Regions from separate parts of the Homo sapiens genome. Here all the other regions are linked to region 1. Evidence: promoter capture Hi-C in 16 types of primary human blood cells and fetal thymus (Javierre and others, 2016). All regions are on one chromosome and are shown on one strand. The core of a region is centred on a gene start or on the middle of the fragment in contact, and the rest is flanking DNA. Distances in the headings are between cores, read along the strand shown. Region 1 holds the start of PLXNB2 (plexin B2). Region 2 overlaps BRD1 (bromodomain containing 1). Region 3 overlaps BRD1 (bromodomain containing 1). Region 4 holds the start of ZBED4 (zinc finger BED-type containing 4). Region 5 overlaps SHANK3 (SH3 and multiple ankyrin repeat domains 3). Region 6 has its middle 11 kb from the start of SHANK3. Region 7 has its middle 16 kb from the start of ARSA.

Evidence for each region. Contacts are between HindIII fragments. The CHiCAGO score rates a contact against its expected background, and 5 or more counts as called.
Region 2: a fragment that was not itself captured here is called in contact with the fragment with the promoter of PLXNB2 in region 1 in 1 of 17 cell types (monocytes); the score reaches 5.1 in monocytes.
Region 3: a fragment that was not itself captured here is called in contact with the fragment with the promoter of PLXNB2 in region 1 in 2 of 17 cell types (total B cells and naive B cells); the score reaches 6.6 in total B cells.
Region 4: a fragment that was not itself captured here is called in contact with the fragment with the promoter of PLXNB2 in region 1 in 3 of 17 cell types (monocytes, total B cells and M0 macrophages); the score reaches 5.3 in monocytes.
Region 5: a fragment that was not itself captured here is called in contact with the fragment with the promoter of PLXNB2 in region 1 in 1 of 17 cell types (naive CD4 T cells); the score reaches 5.2 in naive CD4 T cells.
Region 6: a contact is called between a fragment that was not itself captured here and the fragment with the promoter of PLXNB2 in region 1, in 1 of 17 cell types (naive CD8 T cells). The highest score is 5.1, in naive CD8 T cells.
Region 7: a fragment that was not itself captured here is called in contact with the fragment with the promoter of PLXNB2 in region 1 in 1 of 17 cell types (neutrophils); the score reaches 7.3 in neutrophils.

The regions. Positions count from the first base shown.
Region 1 is chr22:50,306,396-50,309,918 of GRCh38, forward strand. It overlaps PLXNB2 (plexin B2), which reads right to left and starts at 1,251. Exons shown (of 37, transcript NM_012401.4): 1 at 1,158-1,251. DENND6B (DENN domain containing 6B) reads right to left here. Exons shown (of 20, transcript NM_001001794.4): 20 at 2,635-3,523. RefSeq lists an enhancer at 1-104 and silencers at 412-562, 1,083-1,152, 1,163-1,362, 1,523-1,572, 2,273-2,322. The HindIII fragment of the contact is 14,640 bases long and covers 1-2,721 here.
Region 2 is chr22:49,797,876-49,801,398 of GRCh38, forward strand. It overlaps BRD1 (bromodomain containing 1), which reads right to left. Exons shown (of 13, transcript NM_001304808.3): 4 at 1,113-1,244; 5 at 683-811; 6 at 1-242. Among named protein-coding and RNA genes, the nearest start is that of BRD1, 28 kb to the right of the region's middle. The HindIII fragment of the contact is 3,930 bases long and covers 1-3,523 here.
Region 3 is chr22:49,818,873-49,822,395 of GRCh38, forward strand. All of the region lies in intron 2 of BRD1 (bromodomain containing 1), which reads right to left. It also overlaps the pseudogene LOC100420885. Among named protein-coding and RNA genes, the nearest start is that of BRD1, 7.2 kb to the right of the region's middle. The HindIII fragment of the contact is 187 bases long and covers 1,570-1,756 here.
Region 4 is chr22:49,853,458-49,856,980 of GRCh38, forward strand. It overlaps ZBED4 (zinc finger BED-type containing 4), which reads left to right and starts at 387. Exons shown (of 2, transcript NM_014838.3): 1 at 387-532. It overlaps LOC124905147 (a long non-coding RNA gene), which reads right to left. Exons shown (of 2, transcript XR_007068156.1): 2 at 1,045-1,829. It overlaps LOC105377205 (a long non-coding RNA gene), which reads right to left and starts at 55. Exons shown (of 5, transcript NR_188597.1): 1 at 1-55. RefSeq lists silencers at 1-574, 745-1,034 and an enhancer at 3,220-3,523. The HindIII fragment of the contact is 470 bases long and covers 1,319-1,788 here.
Region 5 is chr22:50,718,597-50,722,119 of GRCh38, forward strand. SHANK3 (SH3 and multiple ankyrin repeat domains 3) reads left to right here. Exons shown (of 25, transcript NM_001372044.2): 24 at 1,588-3,523. Among named protein-coding and RNA genes, the nearest start is that of ACR, 18 kb to the right of the region's middle. The HindIII fragment of the contact is 7,975 bases long and covers 1-3,523 here.
Region 6 is chr22:50,660,184-50,663,706 of GRCh38, forward strand. No RefSeq gene overlaps it. Among named protein-coding and RNA genes, the nearest start is that of SHANK3, 11 kb to the right of the region's middle. The HindIII fragment of the contact is 8,082 bases long and covers 1-3,523 here.
Region 7 is chr22:50,642,495-50,646,017 of GRCh38, forward strand. No RefSeq gene overlaps it. Among named protein-coding and RNA genes, the nearest start is that of ARSA, 16 kb to the left of the region's middle. RefSeq lists enhancers at 1-137, 859-1,360, 1,361-1,860. The HindIII fragment of the contact is 2,596 bases long and covers 649-3,244 here.

The sequences.
Region 1 (3,523 bases), core at 1-2,500:
CCTCACCTCTGGACAGGAAAGGGAGGGCTCCTCCCACCAGCTGTTCAGCTGTTCCGTGCCAGGGTCATCTGGGCATGGGGCAGGCTGAGAGCCCCCACTTCCCGGCAGCCTCGCTCTCCCACCCGCAAAGGGCTCCTGAGGAAGCTCAACTTTAAAGCCTCACAGGCTGCGCCGAACCTCCAAGCAAGGGCCGAAGTCAGACATTAAGTGGGGAGGGCGGGGGGGTCCAGGGAAGGTGGGGCACAGGGAGCCCTCCAGGCCGCCGGGATCTGCCGGGTTTGGGGCCCACCCTCACCCTCACCCTCACCCTCACCCTCACCCTCACCCTCACCCTCACCCCCTGTCCTGACTCTGCCACAGCCCACAGTGGGCAGACGGACCCCTTTCTTCCTTTCCCAGGGAGCTTCGGGAAGAGAAATCAAGGGCCTGGCAGGAAGCCCCAGGGCGTCCGGGCTCTGAGACCCCCAGATGACAGGGGGAGGCGGGCTCCCCAGATCTGCCGAATAGCCCGACCAGGGGCGCTGGCAGGGCAGGGGCTTCCTGCAGGAGCAGGGTGCGGAGGGGCAGGGTCAGCAGGGGACAGGCAGGGCTCGCGCCCCCGCTTCTGAGACTTTCTGTGTCTCGGGGTGTCCACCCAGACGCCACTCTGGGAACCGCGAGGAGGCCCAGGCAGTGGGGTCTCGCCAGGTGCGGGTGCTCTCCGCCCTGGTCCCCCCGCGCCAAGCAGGCCCCAGGGGGTGCGGGGACGGCCCCCGGGAGCTCGGGCAAATCCAGGCTCCTGTGCCGCTGAGCCTGGGGCCGGCCCGGAGCGCCCGCACCGCGAGACCATCTCCGCTCGGCGCACGGAGCTCGGCGGCTGAAGAGTGAGAGGCAGGCGCGGAGGAGGGATCCGACGCGGCTCCGGAGGGACGCGCAGCCCCCGCCGCCGGGCCCGTCCCCCGAGTCAACACCGGGAAGGGAGTGGGGCGGCAGCGGCCCGGGCCTCGCCGGATGGACCGACGGACGGGGCCCAGGCCCCGGGAGCCCTCCGCGGAGCCGCAGCCGCCGCAGGTCCCCGGGCCCCAGCGCGGCAGGCCCGGGCGGAGCGGCGCTGACGGCGAAGCCCCCCCCACGCCCAGCGAGACGTCCCCCGCAGCCCAGTCCCCCGAGCTCGGTACCTGCACGTCCGCCGCCAAGGCTCGATGGCGCCCGGGCCGCGCTCGGCGCTGCGCTCTGGCCCGCGCTGCTGCCATGGAGACGGGGCCTTTGTGTGGCCGAGGAGGGGCCGGAGCGCGCGGGAGCTGCCGGCCCCGCCCCCGACGAGGGAGAGGAGGGGAGGGCGGGGAGAACAGGAGAAGGGGGGAGAGGGAGAGGGAAAGCGGAGGGGGAGAAGGAGGGGGAGGGGGAGGGGGGAGAGGGGGAGGGGGGAGAGGGGGAGGGGGAAGAGGGGGAGGGGGAGAGGGGGAGGGGGAAGAGGGGGAGGGGGAGGGGAGGGGGAGCAGGAGCGGGGAGGAGAGGGCAGAAGAGAACCGGAGAGGAGGGGAGGGGACGGGAGGGGAGGGGCTGGGCCTGCGCTCCCCGCGCCCCCCACTTCTCCCCTGCCCAGCGGCCACAGCATTGTCTGGTAGGTTCAGGCACCCCAGTTCAGACCCAGGTTCAGCCAGGGCAGCACCCTGCCCACCATGCCGCCGTCCAGGAAGCACGAGCGCCCACAGAGGCCCCATGGCCTGAGCACCCCCACAGGAACCCCGCAGGTCTGAGGGGAGGCCATGGCTTGGTACCAGGGGAGGGCATTATGAGTGCACTCTCGCCTGGCCAGAGGAACGTGAGGGTCCCTGCCAGTCTTGAGATGTGTGGGCACCAGACTCTCACTCCCAGACTGGAAGCATACCAGTCGCTCCCCTGCGGCCTTCAGGGGTGGGGGCTGCTGGGCTTTGGCCCTTTCCCAGGGGTCTCAGGCCCTCAACCTCCCAGGGTAAACTGGGACCTGGAGATGGCCTCCCAGCACATCCCTGGCCTCCAGCAGCACCTTGGGATGCTGCACCCGGGACCCCACCTGGTCCTTCAGGGCCAGGAGGTGGGCGGGCCGAGACCTCTTTCTGGGGGTTCTGGTTTCTGGGACAGAGCTGGCCCCACTTCTGGCATCCCAGGTCCCAAGTCCTGGCCTCAGTGCTCCTAGTGTCCCCTGGGCTTGAGAAGAGGTGGTGAACCGTCTGCAGGGCCAGACCTTGGAGCACGCCTCCACTGCCCTCCCGGAACTGGATGTGCTGAGCAGGAGACAGAAGCATTCCCCAAGCTCTTGCCCCCACCCTGGGTCACCCCTCCCTGGGGCCCGCCTTCCACCCAGACCTGCCCCGTCCTTGCAGCTGGTCAGCTTCCTCCTGTCCCCAGCCAGGCATCCCCTCCTCCTCTGCTTCCCCCACCCGGGATCCGCCCCGCCACATCCTGACAAACTCCCCCAGCCTGACTTAGTTCTTTCAGTCTCTGCCTTCTCCCACCCTCAAGCAGCCAGGCCTTGTTCCTGTCCAAAATCTTCCCTTGGGCCTTGAACCACAATCCACATCACGGCAACCCTACCCTTCACTGCAGAGGACCCCAAAATTACCAGGTTCTGACAAGGTTGCCAACTTTTTATCAAAAAAGGAAAAGACAAGGTCCAGTCACAAAAGGACATTTTAATACCAAAACTGTGGGAAGGCCACTGTTCTAGACTAAAAGGGAGTCTTTAAATAGCCAGCAGGAAGCTTGAGGGTGAGCAGCTGTCCTTCCTGTCCCTGAGCAGGCCCCCTGTGTGCACCCTCAGCCCCGAGCCCCACTCCAGACCTGCTCCCAGCCCTTCCCACCCTCTAGGTTCTGTGGTCCCTGTCCTTCGGGAGGCCTGTGACCACAGCAGTCCTCACCCTCGCCAACTAAGTTCTGCCCAGCAAGCCCTCTTGCCTGCGGGGGCTGGCACTCTGGCCAGGGGTAGAGCTGTCTGGACCTTCCTGCCTCTTCACTGACTGCCCCTGGCCTGGAGTGCGTGGGGCGGGGAGGGCCATGGCCTAGCCCTGGACAGAGGCTCAGCCAACTCAGAGCGGCCCTGACACTGGGGGGGCCACAAGAGGCATCCGGACAGATGGAGCTGGCAGGTCTCCACGCCCAGCCCCCACCCATCCACCCCAGGCCACATTCCACCCCAGGCCTCTTCTGCACAGGTGGGGACAGGCCCTGAGGAAGAGGGGCTGGGACACTACCCCCCACCTTAGCCTTAGCTTCTGCCCAGGGCAATGCTGGCCACCCAGCCCGGTTCCCCCCTCAAGTTCCCCCTTCACACGCCACTATGTGGCCTCACCAGAGCCCTCCAGGGAAATCTGCTTGTGCATTTCTGGATACACAGTGGCCAGGGTCCCTGGGGGCTCCTCAGAGACCAGCCTGAAGCCCCTCCCCTGCAGCCATGTGGGTCTGCAGCCCTCTGTGCTGTGCGGCAGCCCTCAGAAAGCCAAGTGAGGCGAGACTGTGCTGTGGGGAAGCACATGCTGCCACGGTCCTTGGGGTGCGCTCCCCA
Region 2 (3,523 bases), core at 378-2,877, 510 kb before region 1:
TCCAAGCCGATGCTGTCCACCTCGCGCCGGGCCTGCCTCAGAACAACACCTCCCTGATCGCGCAGCCTCACCGCGGCTCTATAGAACACGGTGTCCCTGGCATTGTACTTCATGCAGTTATCTATAATGAGATCAAAATCCTCCTCAAACTCATGGAGGTTTTTATACCCTTGAGCTTCTAACCGTTTCCTCATTGTGGCAAAGTCCATGGGATGTTTAATGTGATCCAAATAATCTGGTACCTAATTTTAGGGAGGAAAAAGAATCATTTACAAACTAAAACAGGATATTAGTTGACTCTATATTTATTATTCCATATAACCCACAAGCCCATCCTATCTGAGAGCCACACACAGACACGCAGACGGTACAGACATAAGACCCAAGTACTGCAGGGACCTTCCCGACCCCAGCTCCTTCAGCTAAAGCACGCTGGAGGGTGCCGGGCGGATGCTGCCACAGCCCAGGGTACTGTCTGCACAGGGCCTCTTGCCCACTGCACTTTCAGTATTTTACAATGAAATGTATCACTTTTATAATTTAAAAACAAATACGTTAAATAAAAACGAGAATTAAGAACACAAGGGATGTACTCTAGCCAATCACACGTTTCCCGGTCAAACGGCAGCACAAATCCACAGTCACACATGCGGCAGGACAGACGAGCGCCGCAAACACCCACCTCCTTCAGACTCACGGGCTGCGCAAATATCCTGGCGGGGTCCTTGTCTTGCAGCTGGTCCAGCACTGAGCGCAGCAGCACCGTCAGCGGGGTCAGCCGCAGCTCCATGGCGACCTGCTCCACCTTCACCTGGGGGGGCCCAGCAGAGCCTCAGCTTTAGGGAGCCGCACATGCGTCTCAGCCCCACCACGCGCCCCACAGCCACAAGCAGCCCCCACAGGCTCCTGTGCTTCCGTCCAGGCATAGGACAACGCAGCCTCCACTTAGGGCTCTGCAACCCATGGCAGCCAGGCACCCAGCCTGGGCTGAGCAAGGCACTGCTGTGGGCCAGGACCCACCGGGTGCAGCCCACCCTCTGCAGGAGCTGCCAGCGTCCCACCCACGCCCCGTGGCCAGTGGTGCACTCCACGCGGGACAGGCCCAGCCCCACCTGCTCACGCTTGAGCTTCTCCCGCTTGCGCAGCAGCTCGATCAGCAGGCGAGCGCGCTCCAGGTCGTGCCGCAGCCGCTGCCAGTACTTCAGCTTCTCTTTGGCAGCCTTCATCTCCTCATCATTTTCTCTCTGAGAACAGTGAACACTTCCGTCAGTCAAACCCAGAGGCTCCTTCTGCAAAAGGCCTCAGATACCATGCAGGTGAGACCCCAAGAGGCATCCACGTCAGGGGTCCTGCAGGCCCATCCTGGGGAGGACAACAGACCACCCTCACTAGAGAGCCCCAGGACAGCACCGGGACAGAGGGGACAGAGGAGACAGAGGGGATGGAGGGGACAGAGGGGACCGCCAGGCCAAGGTGAGCAGGGGGCTGGCCCCGGTGCACAGGTTCCACCCTCCAGAGAGGACAGAGGCCTCCGCAAGCTGGCGGCGGGGGGGGCCTTCACAGAACCAGAAAGGCCCACAAAGGCGGGGCCAGGACAGAATGGGGGACCCTTGAGGACCCACCTCCAGGACAGCTGGGAATGGAGGGAGCGGCTGGAAAGAAACCAGGTGCACAGAAAACCACATGCTGGGCCCATCCTGGCTTGGACAGAGCATGACGGGGGCCTGGCACACAGCCGACCTGCTGCCCTGCCCTGCACAGCGCCTCCATCCCGACACACGTTTCCCCACAGCCAGGGTCCCATTTCCATTGATAGCACCTGCTCCCTTCTCAGTGGACAGAAGAGTGCGCCAGACAGCACAGGCCGCCAGCCTCAACCCAGCCAACATCCACACCAGGGTGATCAGAAGAAAATCAGAGCCCTGCAAAGGCCATGACACAGATGGTCGCAGGAGAGTAGGCCACCTGGGTCTGCCCTCAGCCCTGTCCTCACCATGTCCCCCAGGCCTGGCCGCATGAGGCCTGCTCGTCACAGTGCCGGGGCACCCTGACCCTACCTCAAAGGGGAGAGGAAGTCAACGAGGGAGTTGGCCTGAGTGGGCCCCCAACACCTGTCATCCTCCACAGCTGCAGGACACGCGCGCCCTGCCAGCCTCAGGACAGCCGTGGCCATCAGTTTCTGGCACATGCTTCACAGCCCTGAGACCCTCCTCTCCCCCAACGCCTCTGTCCCCGGGTTCCCACCTGCCCACCTCAGGGTACTGTCATAGCTTTTCAAAGGACCGAGGGTGTGAAGGCAAAGACTGCTGGACTACAAGATGCAAGGACCCCGGACTCCAAACTGCTCAGAAAAGGAGGCTCAAGGAGGGAGGCCGAGCCCCGCACCCCCACCCCCAAGGCCAGGCCTCTCCATGGCGAGGCAGAGCGTTGCTGCGCTGATGTCCCCTGAAGTGAGGATCTCTGGGTTTTCCTCAATGCTGCTGAACACCCTCAGGCAGGAAATCGGGGCTAAGAGTAACAAGATCCACATCAACTCAAGCAAAGGCAGGAAAATGTGGGCTCCAAAAACCAAGCTCCCCGGAGCATCTGAGTATTGCCTGTCCCTCAGCTTGCAATCGACACTTCTGAAAACCTCGGCCAAAAGGACATTTGGCCTGGGAATCTGTTACGAAGCGGAAGAAATCTCCTCATCACCAGGAAGCCCTTTATCACGCACTGGCTGCTAAGCAAACTTACTAGTCTGCTCCCCAACCTGGTTTAACAAACGCCATCGGCAGTGGCAGGGGCCCCGTTGACAGCACCTGGGCCCAAGGTCCCATGACACATGCAGCCTCATCCACTCAGAAGGATCAAGGTTCCTTACTCGGCTCTCAAGGGCTCGATATTTCCCATGTAAAAATCAACAGTGGGAGGCTCCACGAGAAAGGACAGAAGTGAAGAAGCACTCAGGCATCCCCACTGCCGGGAAGAAGCTGAGCGCCTCCGCGTCCATTCCAGACACATGGGGGAGACACAGGGCAGGGCTAGGCGACGGTCAGGTTAAAATCGCCTCTGCTGGGAGGACAGGCCAGCTCCTGGGGTGAGGGCCCACAGTGTTACAGAGTGGCCGACCCCAGGCCTCCTGGCAACAGCACCCAGCTCCTGCCACTGGGCCCAATGCCGCCAGCAGGTGCGTGGGACTGGCAGAGGCCACACACGCAGCACAGCAAGGACGATGTGGGCAGCAGCGCCCAGCATGCCACAGGACAGACACTGGGAAAGCTGCAGGATGCGCTCCCAGGACAGGAAGGGTGGGCCACGGGAGCAGGAGACAGTGGGACGCCACCAGCATACACACAAATCGCTGCTCACCCTTTATAAAGCTAAGCTGCCGCCCCCGTTCTCCCTGCGGCCTTCAACGGCCACACACACCAGAACAAAAACCAGGGCCTATATGCGCAGCCAGCACAGACCCGCCATCGCTGCAGCACCCTCGGCGCCTGCTGGCCTCTCAAGAGACCCCGTCCAGTTCATCCACCTGCCC
Region 3 (3,523 bases), core at 413-2,912, 490 kb before region 1:
AAGACTCCGTCTCAAAAAAAAAATGTCATTCTATACAGGTGCAACTCAATCCGTTAATAAAAACTGATGTATGCTGGAGAGAGGAAGTGAAAAGAAAAAATAGGGCTGGGTGCGGTGGTTCACGCCTGTAATCTCAGCACTCTGGGAGGCCAAGGCAGGCAGATCACCTGAAGTCACGAGTTTGAGACCATCCTGGACAACATGGTGAAACCCCATCTCTACAAAAAAAATACAAAAATTAGCCAGACACCGTGGCACACACCTGTAGTCCCAGCTACTCGGGAGGCTGAGGAACGAGGATCGCTTGAACCTGGGAGGTGGAGGCTGCAGTGAGCCGAGATTATGCCATTGCACTCCAGCCTGGGCAACAGAGCGAGGCTTCATCTCAGGAAAAAAAAGAAGAACAGAAAAGAAAAAATAACAATAAATCAATGTAAGGCCAGGCATGGTGGCTCACGCCTGTAATCTCAGCACTTTGGGAGGCCGAGGCAGGCAGATTGCTTGACCCCATCTCACCAAAAAATAAAAACATTAGCAGGGCATGGTGGCACATGCCTGTGGTCCCAGCTACTCAAGAGGCTGAGGTGGGGGAGTCGCTTGAGCCCAGGAGGTCGAGGCTGTAGTGAGCCATAACCATGCCACTGCACCCGTCTGAGCAGAAGAGCAGGACTCTGTTCAGGAGATTCTCCTGCCTCAGCCTCCTGAATAGCTGGGATTACAGGCGCGCACCACCACGCCTGGCTAATTTTTATATTTTTAGTACAGATGGGTTTTCACCATGTTAGCCAGGCTGGTCTCGAACTCCTGACCTCGTGATCTACCCACCTCGGCCTCCCAAAGTGCTGGCATTACAGGTGTGAGCCACACACCCAGCCCTGCCTGTTTTTCAAAGTGTTTATTTACCGCTGTTATTATTTAATCATAGTATATCAAACTTACAAAAAAACAGATTATAACCTTAAAACTATCTCTTTTAGCCTGGCGCAGTGGCTCACGCCTGTAATCCCAGCACTTTGGGAGTTCGAGGCGGGTGGATCACCTGAGGTCAGCAGTTCAAGACCAGCCTGGCCAACATGGTGAAACCCCGTCTCTACTAAAAATACAAAAATCGGCCGGGTGTGGTGGCAGGTGCCTGTAATCCTAGCTACTCAGGAGGCTGAGGCAGGAGAATCACTTGAACCCAGGAGGTGGAGGTTGCAGTGAGCCAAGATCACCGCACTGCACTGCAGCCTGGGCAACAAAGCAAGACTCCACCTCAAAAAAAAGGGGGGAAAAAAAAGAACTATCTTTTTTACTTGAAATTTTAATTTTTTAAACCACTAGAATTATAAAAGCAGTCCGTCCCTGAAGGCAGATTCTGTTCTGTCCACAGGGAATAAGGAAGATCCTCTTTCTCTAAAATCTCTAAAACGCTGCTCAGATGGGGTCTCATCTCCCTTCCAGCGTGACTGGCTGGCCTGAAGCATAACATCCTCAGATGCTCTAGGTGGGTCCTACACCGGAGCCATTGGTTAGTGCACACCATAACCAACTAGACTCAGCATCCCCGCCCACGGCTGCACATCAAGAAGCTTCACCATGGGCCAGGCACAGTGGCTCGTGCCTGTATTCCCAGCTGAGGCTGGGAGGAGGCTGAGGCGGGAAGATCGCTTGAGTCCAAGAGTTTGAGGCTACTGTAAGCCATGATCACGCCACTGCACTCCAACGTGGGCAACAGAACAAGACCCTGTCTCTAAACATAAAATAAAAAATAAGAAGCTTCACCCTCATCTACACAGAATTCAAATGCACAGCTGAGGCCTCCTACATGCACCCAGGGGTAGTGCCCAGGGCCTAAGAACAGGGCTGCCAGATCAGCTGCCTCTCAGACCACAGCAAGGCAGTAAACCCGGTTTCAGGCAGCAGTCAGTACTGTATTGAGAGCCTGCCCCTCACAACCACCCCAGAGGTGGGTCCAGCACCATGGTGCCAACAGGCCAGGCGCACTGGGAGCTCCTCCACTGGTGGCAAGGTGGCCTGAAGCACCAGCATCTCCTGGAGACTGGGAAACCCAGACTGCAGAGACCGCGGCCAGGAACACTCGTCCAGGTTTGTTTCTCTCTCTCTACTCGAAGCTGAAATAATAGTTTATTCCCAAGTTAGGAAAAGAACAGAACCACACAGTACGCGGTTTAGCTCCAATACATGCTTTCAAATATTTAGGTCGAGTTTTCTTCTCAATCAGCCCTGGCCACTTCAGCCCCCATGTCCTGCATGCAAACACTGCCTCCTTCAGTCCTGCCTACCCAACATCAGGAGCCAAAGAACAGAGAGCGTGCGGCCCGGCCAGGCCCGGCCTCTCCCAGAGCAGGTCATCATCTGGTACTGGCCAGGGAAGGGAGCACTTCAGACTTTTGGCTCTTCATTTTGTTAGATCACATTTTGTTTATTTTGCTTCAATTTCAGTAAAGCTGAAATTTTTAGACCTCTTATACAGAAGCTCTTAATACAAACCCTAGACTTTTTGACTCATAGGTAGAAATCCAAGCAAAACCATCTCTTCAAAGTCAGATTAATTTACAAAGACAAACACCTTGGTTTTGACAGGGTTTTCCCTGGATGGGAAGGATTATGAGCATTTTTTGTTCATTCTGTCTGAATTGACTAATTATCTGAGTATTTACAGCTCTGTGAAAAGAAACTGGACTTCACTTTGGTAAAGTAGAGTAATATTAACAAAAATCACTTAAAACTTCTTTTTTTTTTTTTGAGACACAGTTTCACTCTGTCACGCAGGCTGCGGTACAGTAGCACAATCTTAGCTCACTGCAACCTCCCAGCCTCACCGCCCGATGCAGCTCAGCCTGCATGCGTCCCACCTGTGCTGTCCTCCCCTCACATGTGGGGCAGGTCTGACACCTCAGAGGGTCCTGCTCACTGACCCCCGGCAGTCCTGGAGGGTCTGTGTGGTACTGGGGCTCTAGGCGTCTCCCCCAGCCAAGCTGCAAGCTCAGCACCAGGCTGGCTCTACCCGCCCTGTTGACCGGCAGGCCCCATCTGTGCTCACAGCTCCTCCCCTTGTTTGGCCACCCTTTCCTCAGGGCATCTGCAGCAAGTGGGGGGCACAGCACGGGAAACGGGGCCAAGGCCACAGCAGTGGATGTCCCGATGCCGGCAGTCACTGGGAAGCCCAGGCCAGAGCCCCTCGGGTTGAAAGTCATACAGAGTTCCTGCGTGGGCTTCATTCCTTCTTAAAGTTTAGTCACTGAAATTCTTAAAAATCTTCACGCACGGCTGGGCATGGTGGCTCACGCCTATAGTCCTAGCACTTTGGGATGCAGAGGCAGGCAGACTGCCTGAGCTCAGGAGTTCCAGACCACCCTGGGCAACATGGTGAAACCCCGCCTCTACTAAAAATACAAAATTAGCTGGGCATGGGAGCACACGCCTGTAGTCCCAGCTACTCAGGAGGCTGAGACACAAGAATTGCTGGAACCTGGCAGCAGAGGTTGCAGAGAGCTGAAATCGTGCCACTACACTCCAG
Region 4 (3,523 bases), core at 304-2,803, 450 kb before region 1:
AGCCGTCCCGGAAACCCGCGGTGGGCCGTTGGGTGCGCGCCGAGCCGCTGCCAACTGCCAAGCCACGGGACGAAACCAAGGCGCCCGCGCCCCGCCCAGCCAGAGCGCCTAAGCCCTTCCCGTCGCCCGCCAGCGCCGGAGCGCCCACTGCGCCTGCGTAGTTTGCCCTCCTGGACCCGGGGGCGGAGCCGAAGCGCGCATTGCGCCTGCGTCTTCCGCCCGACCCCGCCCCAGCGGCCGGGCCTCCGGCGCTCCGTCCTCCCGCCCGGCCAGGGACGAGGCGGGGCGGGTACGCGGACACTGCGCCTGCGAGAGTAGGCCCCGCCCCCGATCGGCCCCGCCCCCGGCCAGCCCCGCCCCGCGCCGCGCGGGGCCCTGGGAGGGGCGCAGCGTCCGGCGGCGTCGCGGGCGGCGGGCGGCGGGGCCGCGGGAGGGGCGCGGGGGCAGACAAAGCCGCGGTAATGAATGGAGCGTCCGCCCGCGCCGCCGTCGTCCGCAGCCGGCCGGGAGCCGCCCCAGAGGCCGGGCCGAGGTGAGTGCGCGGGCGCCGCCGCCCCGCCGCCTGCCGCGAGCCCCGTCCCCCGCGGACCGCGCCGGGGCCGGGCCGGGCCGCGCCATTGTCTGCGCCGCGCCGGGGCCAGGGCCGGGGCCAGGCGGGCGGGGGCGCGGTTCCGTGGCCTCGGGGTCCCCGCCCGGCGCCGCCCCGGACCCGCCCCCGCGCGGACCCCGGCCCTGACAGCTGGCGCGGGGGCGGCGCCGACTGAGCGGCCGAGTGCCGGGGGTCGGCGCCCGGCCTGGCCCACGTGCCCGCGCCGTTGCTTCCGGGCGGACGGGACGGGGCTCGGGCTCGGGGCGCCGCCCGGGTCCGCCGGGAGCGCGCTGTCCCGGCCACGTCGAGTTAACCCCGCGAGCCCCGTCCCTGGGACTTCTCTGGACGTGTCATTCCCGTCCCACCTCCAGGAAGGGCCACCTGGGCCCTGCTTCATGTCTCAGCCCAGACGGGTCCTTGCGACGCGCCCCGAGGCAGGTTATTGTACGTGGTTCTGGGGATGACCGTTCACATTTAATGAATAAAAATGTAACTTGCCTTGCGAACCATAATTTCAAATGTTTTTCGACTGCAGTGGTTTTCCTACACCCAAATGAGCTCGCAGTCAGTTTTGTTTCTTCTTTTGTCCCGTTGTGTGGCCCACACCGCCTTCGTTGCTAAGAGAATCGCAGCCCCTCGGGCTCCCTTCTGCGCCTTTCTATTCCGGGTGGCCCTGGTAGACCCGGGCACCTCTGTGGAAACACGTCCCGGCCAAGCTGAGCCGTCAGAAGCTTCTGTTGGTGTTCTCGTGTTGGTCGAAAGGGAAGTTATTTATTTTGAAGTTAACTCTGATCAGATTACGTTTTTAGAAATCCATTCAGACCTCATAGTGAGGCCAGTTTGGTAAAGCAAGGGCATCCTGCGACTTTTTACACAGAAATGTTTTTTATTTTTTCTGTGTATGTCATTCATAGTGACAAAATTGAGGCTAGGAAGGATTTGGTTGGGATTTTTTTTTAAGTGCTATGAATAAGCCACATTTTGATTATGAATTAATTGCAATTACTAAACAAAGTTACTTTGCAAGAGGAAAGTTTACAGGAGTTTGATTCCATACTCCGAGGGTTTCCAATGGGACGTCCGTACAAGGCTGCACACTTCCCGTAGTCCTTAAACGGATTATATCTGCTTGTCATGATTGGCTTTTTTTCAAGAAAAGATCTAGCACAAGTTAAGAGAGATTCTGTGAATCTTGAAAAAGCTTCAGAGGCCCGGTCTTTGAGGTGAGGACACAGTTAATCTATATGGAAAGAAACCTAAGACTTTTAGTCCACTTGACAGGTGGTTACAGGGTCTCCCCCAACACACACTCTTGTCCAGGTAATTCCTGAATAAGGTGGTTGATGTTGTTGGATGTAAAACCTCTGCTCTTTAAGGTTACCTCCTCCCCAACCCCCTCCACACACACAGTGAGTAACTCAGCTGTGCAAAGTATGTCCATAACACCTTGCAGAAAGACTAAAAAAATTACTAGGGGAGCGGACTGACTTCTGTGTGTGTGCAGAGGAGCTGAGAAGCAGCTTCTTTAGCGAAAGGTGTGTGTGTGTGTGTGTCTCAGATCCTTGGTGAGGAGCCCTGGGGAGTGGACTCCTGGCGGCATGAGGAGCAGGAAGTGACCGTGGTCAGTGCCGTCCTTCACTTTGTTTTGCGTTTTTTTCTTTGCCTGGCTTTAGCTTCTGGTCTCATTCTCTTTGGTGTGGTGGTTGTCTTTTGAGAGGAGGGAGCAGGTGAAACAGCTGGGCGTGGCTTTGCCCAGCCCTGGGGTAGAGGCCAAGCTGGCCCTTCCTTACCAACGTTGTTTCCTTCACTGTTTAAATCTCAGGACCTGAGAATGTACCTATAGGAATTGCTCTTATTTACATTTGGCTGTGTAAGAAAGTCACTGTGCCTTTAGCCCGTGACACCCCTTAGCGGTTTGGTTTTGGCTTTCTCTTTTAGTGTCTGTGGATTCCAGCAGCTCTCTGGCTTCAGCCCTTTCAAGGATTCGGGCCTCTCTGCATCCCAGCCTTCCAGGCCCTTCTGCTCCCCACTTTTTAGCACCTAGGTTTTTCTACATTCTGCAGTACCTCAGATCCCTTCCTTGGTCATCACTGGATATGTGCTTTTGTAGTTCAAATTCTGGGAGGCATTGTTAGGAATAAAATAAGCTCTTTGCCATTTCTGAGGCGGAGGGGAGCAGGAGAGACAGAGGTGCTTGCCTCTCTGCCTGCTGGGGCCATGGTGGTTTTCAAAGAAGGCCCTGGCCGTAGGGAACATGGTGGTGGTGAGGAGCAGCGTAAACCAGAGAAAAAGGCTCAGTAAGTGCTTCAAGGAGAAACACCGGCAGGTGAGAGCAGGGGTAATCCCAGTTTCTCAGGAAAGCATGCTCCGGAGACCTCATAGGGAGAGGAGGTTGCCCTGAAGGGTCTGGGGGCGATGGCGGAAGCCCCAGGAGAGCATTGTCCATGAGGTGCAGAGGCAGCCTCACGGCATCCCAGTGCGTACCTCCTGCCCGGCCCAAGCGCCTGCTGCTGAAGCCGCCTCCCAGCTCCCCCGGGTTGTTTCGGAATTCAGGGGACATGCAGCCTAAATGACCCACACTGGAATCCCGGCCGGCTTCCCATCCCTCGTTCTAGGTGAAGGCCGCGCTGGAATCCCGGCCGGCTTCCCATCCCTCGTTCTAGGTGAAGGCCGCGCTGGAATCCCGGCCGGCTTCCCACCTCTCGTTCTAGGTGAAGGCCGCGCTGGAATCCCGGCCGGCTTCCCACCCCTCGTTCTAGGTGAAGGCCGCGCTGGAATCCCGGCCGGCTTCCCACCCCTCGTTCTAGGTGAAGGCCGCGCTGCAATGCCAGCCAGCTTCCCACCTCATTCTAGGTGAAGGCTTTTCAGCAGCCATGGCCCATGTCTTTCCCAGCAAACTCTGTGTGCAATAGAAACAGCTGATGCTGGCCTGGC
Region 5 (3,523 bases), core at 708-3,207, 410 kb after region 1:
CTGGGCACAATTTCTCTGTCCAGCGGTTGGGGATGGGGGGAAGGCAGACCTAAAAATCACGATGATGATGACCTCGGCCCCCTTCCCCCATTCCCAGGATACTGCTGCAGTTCAGCCCTGCACTGTAAAGGTGAAATCGCCCCACAATAGTTGCAGGCTGTCCTCTTGACATGAGGAAACTGAAGTTCCTAGAGGCTTCTGAAGTTCCTGGCAGATCTAAAATTCAAGCCTAGGTCTGTACACAAAAGCCCACCCTTGGTACCTTGGCTACAAAGAGATATTATGCCCAGCAAGAAGCAGTGTAGTACTGGAGGCCTCATTAGCACTGCGGTGGCTGGAGGAGGATGCGATCAGGAACAGGCAGTCTGTATTTTAGCGAGTTCATAAAAATGTTGACCAATCTCAGAGTGAGGCTGGGAACAGGAGCACCACGAGACCTGGGTGTGTGGGTGTGGGGCCGTCCGCCCCCTGCAGCCTCACTGAACACACCTGCAGCACGTGTGTCCGCATCATGATGTCCACAGGGGTGTTCAGGAGGTTGTGTCAGGTTCTGCTGGACAGCAGGAGCATGAGGGCCCTGAGCACTCCAGCCCCTGCACAGGACCCTAACAATGATGTCTGAGCAAGGCATGCAGAGGGGGGTTACTGAAGCTCAAAGGGGCTCAGGGCCTGGCCTGGGGTCACGCTGCCAGTAGGGGTTAAAATGAAACATGCTGGGTGCTCAGCCTGCAGTTCCATTTTGATTGATCCGTCCGTTCTTCCCTTCACCCACTCACCCATGCGGGTCTCTGGGAGGAGCCTCTCAAGGCTTCCTCCACAGGGCACCTCCTTACCTGGGTGGGCATTAGGTCTTTCTCTGCTGGAGGCCTGGCTCCAGTGGCCACAGCCCTGCTGCCCCTCACCCTGCCAGTGTGTCACTCCTGCTCATTTCCGACTATCTTCCTCTCACCTCTGGTTGCCTCCAGGGCTGGTACTTCTGCGTCGGCCTTGTTGATTCTGGGGTGGGGAGCCCTGTACTGGCCCCTCCAAGCCCCTCAGCAGTTCTGTCCCCATGTCTTGCGGGGCTGTCCCTGCCTTTCTGGGATATCTTCTCAGGGCCTGCTTGATGACCCTGGGTTTGGGCAGGTCTTGGCCCCAACCCAGGCCGTCAGAGTTTGTGTCCTTTCTCAGGGGTCCCCGGTGGGGCCCTCCTCCATCCTGTAACTGAACGCACACCTCTCTCCTGTCCTCTTCACAAGAGCCCTCCCCGTGCAGCCCTGGGCCTGGGGCACAGAGCTTGGGCATCCAGGGACCAGCCCAGACCAGGGTCTTGCTCGGAGCCCGGGCTCTGGGCTCCCTGTTTCTCCCCTGCCCTCCATTCCCCGCCCACCACGGGTCCCAACCCCATCTTCCCGAGCATTCTAGCTCCTCGCGCCGGGTTCTGCCGCGGGCGTCCATTGTGTCCGGACGGTGGCTTCCCCGGGGTGGAGTCGGGTCAAGGCTGGCCTCTGTGGGAGGGGGTTGCCGGGGTCCCCAGGAACCTCTCCGAAGGCAGCACCACCCCCCGCCCAGCGCCCTGGCTGGTCTCACCGGCCCTTCCGTCCGCAGGGGAGGACGAGAAGCTGGCGTCCCTGCTGGAAGGGCGCTTCCCGCGGAGCACCTCGATGCAAGACCCGGTGCGCGAGGGTCGCGGCATCCCGCCCCCGCCGCAGACCGCGCCGCCTCCCCCGCCCGCGCCCTACTACTTCGACTCGGGGCCGCCCCCGGCCTTCTCGCCGCCGCCCCCGCCGGGCCGCGCCTACGACACGGTGCGCTCCAGCTTCAAGCCCGGCCTGGAGGCGCGCCTGGGCGCGGGCGCTGCCGGCCTGTACGAGCCGGGCGCGGCCCTCGGCCCGCTGCCGTATCCCGAGCGGCAGAAGCGCGCGCGCTCCATGATCATCCTGCAGGACTCGGCGCCCGAGTCGGGCGACGCCCCTCGACCCCCGCCCGCGGCCACCCCGCCCGAGCGACCCAAGCGCCGGCCGCGGCCGCCCGGCCCCGACAGCCCCTACGCCAACCTGGGCGCCTTCAGCGCCAGCCTCTTCGCTCCGTCCAAGCCGCAGCGCCGCAAGAGCCCCCTGGTGAAGCAGCTGCAGGTGGAGGACGCGCAGGAGCGCGCGGCCCTGGCCGTGGGCAGCCCCGGTCCCGGCGGCGGCAGCTTCGCCCGCGAGCCCTCCCCGACCCACCGCGGTCCGCGCCCGGGTGGCCTCGACTACGGCGCGGGCGATGGCCCGGGGCTCGCGTTCGGCGGCCCGGGCCCGGCCAAGGACCGGCGGCTGGAGGAGCGGCGCCGCTCCACTGTGTTCCTGTCCGTGGGGGCCATCGAGGGCAGCGCCCCCGGCGCGGATCTGCCATCCCTACAGCCCTCCCGCTCCATCGACGAGCGCCTCCTGGGGACCGGCCCCACCGCCGGCCGCGACCTGCTGCTGCCCTCCCCGGTGTCTGCCCTGAAGCCGTTGGTCAGCGGCCCGAGCCTGGGGCCCTCGGGTTCCACCTTCATCCACCCACTCACCGGCAAACCCCTGGACCCCAGCTCACCCCTGGCCCTTGCCCTGGCTGCCCGAGAGCGAGCTCTGGCCTCCCAGGCGCCCTCCCGGTCCCCCACACCCGTGCACAGTCCCGACGCCGACCGCCCCGGACCCCTGTTTGTGGATGTACAGGCCCGGGACCCAGAGCGAGGGTCCCTGGCTTCCCCGGCTTTCTCCCCACGGAGCCCAGCCTGGATTCCTGTGCCTGCTCGCAGGGAGGCAGAGAAGGTCCCCCGGGAGGAGCGGAAGTCACCCGAGGACAAGAAGTCCATGATCCTCAGCGTCCTGGACACATCCCTGCAGCGGCCAGCTGGCCTCATCGTTGTGCACGCCACCAGCAACGGGCAGGAGCCCAGCAGGCTGGGGGGGGCCGAAGAGGAGCGCCCGGGCACCCCGGAGTTGGCCCCGGCCCCCATGCAGTCAGCGGCTGTGGCAGAGCCCCTGCCCAGCCCCCGGGCCCAGCCCCCTGGTGGCACCCCGGCAGACGCCGGGCCAGGCCAGGGCAGCTCAGAGGAAGAGCCAGAGCTGGTGTTTGCTGTGAACCTGCCACCTGCCCAGCTGTCGTCCAGCGATGAGGAGACCAGGGAGGAGCTGGCCCGAATTGGGTTGGTGCCACCCCCTGAAGAGTTTGCCAACGGGGTCCTGCTGGCCACCCCACTCGCTGGCCCGGGCCCCTCGCCCACCACGGTGCCCAGCCCGGCCTCAGGGAAGCCCAGCAGTGAGCCACCCCCTGCCCCTGAGTCTGCAGCCGACTCTGGGGTGGAGGAGGCTGACACACGCAGCTCCAGCGACCCCCACCTGGAGACCACAAGCACCATCTCCACGGTGTCCAGCATGTCCACCTTGAGCTCGGAGAGCGGGGAACTCACTGACACCCACACCTCCTTCGCTGACGGACACACTTTTCTACTCGAGAAGCCACCAGTGCCTCCCAAGCCCAAGCTCAAGTCCCCGCTGGGGAAGGGGCCGGTGACCTT
Region 6 (3,523 bases), core at 543-3,042, 350 kb after region 1:
GAGGCTGAGGCAGGAGAATGGTGTGAACCTGGGAGGCGGCGGTTGCAGTGAGCCGAGATGGCGCCACTGCACTCCAGCCTGGGGGACAAAGCGAGACTCCGTCTCAAAAAAAAAAAAAAAAAAAAAGAAAAGAAATCAGTGACAATTTATAGGTATAAACTTGCCTCCAAATGGGCATGGGGTTTAAATACAAAATATCTTGGTGGTTTGGAATTGAGTTGAAGTGGTTGCAGGTTGGCTGCACTAAAGCACTTGGCAGGAGCAAATGTAAATCACCTCTGAGGGAGAGCACTTTCAACTTAACTCCTCCAGGTTCCCACAGACTAAGATTGGTCAAACATGACATCACATCTAAAAATCACAAAACATGTAAGTATGCTCAAAATGGTCACAGAGATAAAAGATGCAACTGAAAACATGAATAAGGAATGAGGAAACTATCAGAAAGAATAGGAACCAAAGAACATGGTAGATTTGAAAAGGAACAATATATGCCTTTTAAAATGAGAAAAATAATTGAAGTTTATTTTTTTCTCTTCCTTTTCTGGAAATATTTTTTTCATCAATCTCATTCTTAAATGAATGAGAACTATAATTCTGAGTTAATGGTTATTCTTAACTCTCTTTCTTGACCTTCACTGTTGTTGTCAGTCTAATTATTCCTTTGGGAGATATTTATCTTTTCTTTTGACTGTTTTTTTTAAATTAACAAATGAAAATTATATATATTTACCATGTGCAACATATTGAGCTAATCAATATATGCATTACCCCACATCATTTTTTATGGTGAGAACACTTAAAATATACTTTCTTAACAGTTTTCAAGTACACTATACATTGTTATTAACTATAGCCAACATGTTGTACAGTAGAGCTCTTGAACTTATTCCTTCTTTTTTTTTGTTTTGTTTTGTTTTTTTGAGATGGAGTCTCGCTCTGTTGCCCAGGCTGGAGTGCAGTGGCGCAATCTCGGCTCGCTGCAATCTCTGCCTCCCAGGTTCACGCCATTCTCCCGCCTCAGCCTCCCAAGTAGCTGGGGCTACAGGCGCCCGCCACTACGCCCAGCTAATTTCTTGTGTTTTTAATAGAGACGGGGTTTCACCATGTTAGCCAGGATGGTCTTGATCTCCTGACTGTGATCTGCCCGCCTTGGCCTCCCAAAGTGCTGTGATTACAGGCGTGAGCCACCATGCCAGGCGGAACTTATTCTTTCTAATTAAAATTTTGAATTCCCTGACCAACATCTCCCCCACAACCTCCTTGCTCCTGATAACCACCATTCCACCCCATTTCTGAGTTCTTTTTATGTTCCACACATATGTGAGATTATGCTGCGTTTGTCTTTCTGTGCCTGGCTTATTTCACTTAACATAATCTCCTCCAAGTTCATCCATGTTGTCAAAAATAGGAGACTAACCCGAGTGGATTGCTTGAATTCAGGAGTTTGAAACCAGCCTGGGCAACATGGTGAGACCTTGTCTCTAAAATAAAAAAAAAACTTGGATTACATTATTAAATAGATTTTTAATCCCAGCTACTCAGGAGGCTGAGGCAGGAGAATTGCTTGAACCCGGGAGGTGGAGGTTGCAGTGAGCCGAGATCGCGCCACTGCACTCCAGCCTGGGTGACAGTGTGAAACTCTGCCTCAAAAAAAAAAAAAAAAGCTACTAGAACTAAGCAATTTAACAAGGTCACAGACTACAAAGTTTATATGCAAAAGATAGTTGTGTGATAGGTTGAGGTGGGTGGATCCCTTGAGCTCAGGAGTTCGAGACCAGCCTGGGCAACATGGCGAAAACCTGTGTATTTTGTGTTTCTCTACTAAAAATACAAACATTAGCTGGGCATGGTGGTGTGTGCCTGTAGTCCTAGCTACTCAGGAGACTGAGGTGGGAGGATAGCTTGAGCCTGGGAAGTTAAGGCTGCAGTGAGCCAAGATCATGCCACTGCACTCCATCCTGGGAAACAGAGTGAGACCCTGTCTCAAAAAAAAAAAAAAAAAAAAAAAAAAGAGGTGATTTTCTATACTATCAACAATTAGAAAATGAGGCTGGGCACGGTGGCTCATGCCTGTAATCCCAGCATTTTGGGAGGCCGAGGCAGGTGGATCACCTGTCAAGAGTTCACGACCAGCCTGGCCAACATGGTGAAACCCTGTCTCTACTAAAAATACAAAAAATTAACCGGTGTGGTGGCGGATGCCTGTAATCCCAGCTACTCGAGAGGCTGAGGCAGAAGAATCACTTGAACCCGGGGGGCAGAGGTTGCAGTGAGCCAAGATCATGCCATTGTACTCTAGCCTGGGCAACAAGAGTGAAACTCCATCTCAAAAAAAAAAATTAGAAAATGAAATTAAAATTATATTAAAATTTTTATTTGTAATACATGAAATAACACAAAATTTTTAGGAATGGATTTAGCAAAAATGTGTAAGAATGCTACACTGAAAGCTACTAAACATTGCTGAGATAAATTAAAGAGGACCAAAATATGTGGGAGGCTGAGGCAGGAGGATTGCTTGAAGCCAGGAGTTTGAGACCAGCCTTGGCAATAAAGCAAGACCCTGCCCCTACAAAATAAATAAACAAATAAATACATGAGGAAATATACTATGTTCATATAATAGAAAACTCAATATTATTAAGATGTCTATTCTCTCAATATATTTACAAATTCAGTGCAATACCAGTCAAATTCCCAGCAGGCTTTCTTGGGGAGTTAGAAATTGACAAGTTGATCCTAAAATTTATATAGAAATAAAAATGACCTAGAATAACCAACAAATTAAAAAAGAACAAAGTTACAGGACTTATCTGCTTTCAAGACTTACTATAAAGTTACAGAAATTAAACAGTATGGAATTGAAGAAAGTTATAAATATAGATCAAAGGAAAAGAATAGAGACAGAGTCCAGAAATAGACCCACACATATGTGGACAACTGATTTTCAACAAAAGTGCAAAGGCAATTCAGTGGAAAAGGAAGTCTTTTTAAAAATGGTGCTGAGAGGTCCCTAGAATAGTCAAATACATGGAGACAGAAAGCAGAACTGTGGTTCTAAGAGCTGGGTGGAAAGGAGACTGGAGGACTTATTGTTCAGTGAGTATAGTTTAATACGGGGTGATGAAAATGTCCTGGAGATGGTGGCGAATTCACTTAATGCCACAAAATTGTATACTTAAAAATTGTTAAAATGGTAAATTTTGTTATGTATATTTTACCACAATAAAAACTAAATTTAAAAATCTTAAAAATGGTTCTGAAACAACTGGACATGCTCCCCCCAAAAAAATATGAACAGCTACCTTTTCTTGATACCAAAAACAAAAATTAACTTGAAATTAATGACAGGCCTAAATGTAAATGCTAAAACTACACAGCCTGGGCAACATGGTGAGACCCCCATCTCTTTTTTTTTGAGACGAATTCTCGCTCTGTAGCCCAGGCTGGAGCGCAGTGGCGTGATCTCGGCTCACTGCAACCTCTGCCTCCTGGGTTCAAGTAATCCTCCTGCTGTAAC
Region 7 (3,523 bases), core at 697-3,196, 340 kb after region 1:
CCTGCTGACATGGGGATCCACCTTAGGCCCCCTGGTGGCCTTCATCTTCCCCACCCCTGTGGGCCTGCTCCATCCTTGTCCCATCAACCACCTTGAGGCCCTCTGGTTGGTCCCAACTCTGAAAGGGCTCTGCTGGTCCCAGCTGGGCAGATACATGACCTGGCCAAGGGGGTGGCAGGTACTGACTGGGAGGTTCTTGTGGAACCCACTGGCAGGGAGAGGAAGGCAGGAGGTTCCCAGAAAGAGGGGCAGCCCTTTTTTTTTTTTTTTTTGAGACGGAGTCTCGCTGCGTCGTCCAGGCTGGCTGGAGTGCAGTGGCGTGATCTCGGCTCAATGCAAGCTCCGCCTCCCGGGTTCACGCCATTCTCCTGCCTCAGCCTCCTGAGTAGCTGGGACTACGGGAGCCCGCTACCACGCCTCGCTAATTTTTTAATATTTTTTTAGTAGAGATGGGGTTTCACCGTGTTAGCCGGGGTGGTCTCAATCTCCTGACCTTGTGATCCGCCCACCTCGGCCTCCCAAAGTGCTGGGATTACAGGCGTGAGCCACTGCGCCCGGCTTGGGGGCACAGTCTTGAGCAGATGAGGACGGAATCCACTGCCCACAAGAACCGTGGCAGGTGTGAGGTAGCTGCTGTGTGGCAATGAAAGCTTCTCTGCTTGGGCAGACGGCAGCTCCTGAACCTTCTCCGGAGCCCATCTGTGCACTTCCTTGTAAAATCCAGTTTTAGTAAGGACCTGATCACCCTTTATGTAACCACCCAGTGAGTTCACTTTGCCCGCTGCCTGCACAGAGCCGATTTATCAAGACAGGGGAATTGCAATAGAGAAAGAGTAATTCACGCAGAGCCGGCTGTATGGGAGACCAGAGTTTTATTATTACTCAAATCAGTCTCCCCGAGCATTCGGGGAGCAGAGTTTTTGAGGGTAATTTGGTGAGTGGGGGAAGGCCAGTGAGTTGAGAATGCTGATTGGTTGGGTTGGAGACAAAATCATGGGGAGCCGAAGCTGTCCTCTTGTGCCGAGTCAGCTGCTGGGTTGAGGCCACAGGATCAGATGAGCCAGTTTATGGATCTGGGTGGTGCCAACTGATGCATCAAGCGCAGGGTCTGCAAATACCTCAAGCGCTGATCTTAGGAGCAGTTTAGGGAGGGTCAGAATCTGCACTGATCTTAGGAGCAGTTTAGGGAGGATCAGAATCTGCACTGATCTTAGGAGCAGTGTAGGGAGGGTCAGAATCTGCACTGATCTTACTTAGGAGCAGTTTAGGGAGGATCAGAATCTGCACTGATCTTAGGAGCAGTGTAGGGAGGATCAGAATCTGCACTGATCTTAGGAGCAGTTTAGGGAGGGTCAGAATCTGCACTGATCTTAGGAGCAGTTTAGGGAGGGTCAGAATCTGCACTGATCTTAGGAGCAGTGTAGGGAGGGTCAGAATCTGCACTGATCTTAGGAGCAGTTTAGGGAGGGTCAGAATCTGCGCTGTTCTTACTTAGGAGCAGTTTAGGGAGGATCAGAATCTGCGCTGTTCTTACTTAGGAGCAGTTTAGGGAGGATCAGAATCTGCGCTGATCTTACTTAGGAGCAGTTTAGGGAGGATCAGAATCTGCGCTGATCTTACTTAGGAGCAGTTTAGGGAGGATCAGAATCTGCACTGATCTTACTTAGGAGCAGTTTAGGGAGGATCAGAATGTGCACTGATCTTACTTAGGAGCAGTTTAGGGAGGATCAGAATCTGCACTGATCTTACTTAGGAGCAGTTTAGGGAGGATCAGAATCTGCACTGTTCTTACTTAGGAGCAGTTTAGGGAAGATCAGAATCTTGCAGCCTCCAGCAGCATGACTCCTAAACCATAATTTGTAATCTTGTGGCTAATTTGTTAGTCCTATAAAGGCAGACTAGTCCGCAGGGAAGAAAGAGGTTTGTTTGGGGAAAGGGCTGTTCATCTTTGTTTTAAACTGTCAACTATAAACCAAGCTCCTCCCAAAGTTAGTTCAACCTGCGCCCATGGAGGAACAAGCATGGCTTAAAGGCTAGAAGCAGGATGGAGCTGGTTAGATGTTAGATGTTAGATCTCCTTCACTGCTTCAGTCGCAGTTTTGCAAAGGCGGTTGCAATCATATCTGGTCAGGTTCCTCACCCTCCACCACCTGGCAGGTGATGTTGGTCACTCTGGCCTGTCCTCAGCAAGAATCCTCTTCACACCTGATGCTTTCCCTTAGTACATTAACATCTCCTGCCCCCACCCTGCTCCTTGGCTATAAACTCCCAGTTACCCAGGCTGTATTTGGGTTTGAGTCCAGTCTTTCTCCCCCGCTGCCAATTCCCCTTCCAGTGGTCTCTATACCTCTGGTGATGGTCCTGAATGAAGTGTGCCTGACTGTGCTTTAACAAGGGTCATTGAGTCACTTTTGTCTCTGATATAGTGCCCTCAAGCTGTCTGCCCAGGCTGGCTGCAGGCATCCTCCAGCCTCCGGCCACTGAGCTTGCTGTTTCCCCAACCTGGAATCCTGCTCCCTGGACTCCTTCATGCCCACCACTGTGGCATTCTCTCAGGAGGGCAGCCTGGTCCCCAAGCTCTCTCTCCCACTCCTGTGCCCAGGCATGAGCTTGTGAAAGGAAAATAAATCTTGGGGCCCCAGAATCACTAAGCTAAAGGGAAGAGTCAAGCTAGGAACTGCTTAGGGCAAACCTGCCTCCCATTGTATCCAAAGTCACCCGTCTGCTCACTGAGATAGATGTATATCTGATCTACTTATGACCTGGGAGTCCCCTCCCTGCTTCCAGTTGTCCCGCCTTTCTGAACCAAAGCAATGTTCGTCTTACGTATGTTCATTGATGTCTTGTGTCTCCCTAAAATGTATAAAACAAAACTGTGTTCTGACCACCTTGGGGACATGTTGTCAGGACCCCCTGAGGCTGTGTCACGAGCATGTGTCCTCAACCTCGGCAAAATAAACTTTCTAAATTAACTGAGAGCATCTCAGATATTCGGGGTTCACATTTTGGTAACCACGGAGGGATTCTGAGTGGAGATGCCCCTGATTTGGACAAATCTCCTATCAGTGCTTGGTACCAGCATGAGCTAACTTTATGGCTCAAACCAACAGGACAATTTGCTGAGATCTGGCAGCATCCCCTCCAGAGAATCCCTGAGCTTCCAAAATTTGGTTAAGATCTAAAGTTTATTTGCTGTACAACTCCCTTCTTTTTGGAGTTTGTCTTGCGTCCAACAAGGAAGGCAAGCTTTCATGCTTCCATGATGATGGAACGCAGGTAACTCCTTTATGGAGTTTGAGCTCGATCCCAGCAGGGAAGACGAGCTCGAGTTTTTTCCTGCTTCTAGGATGGTAGAGAGCCATCTTCGGCCTGAGACCCATCCCTAGGTAAGTAGCCGAATTGGGGTTTTGTCTTGGCTAACGTTTAACCATCAGCTGGTCTTAATTTCTCCATTAGACCCTTCTGTGATCATATTGTTGGGGTTTTTTGTTGTTTATTCTGGTCTTTCTCCCATCAGATTTGA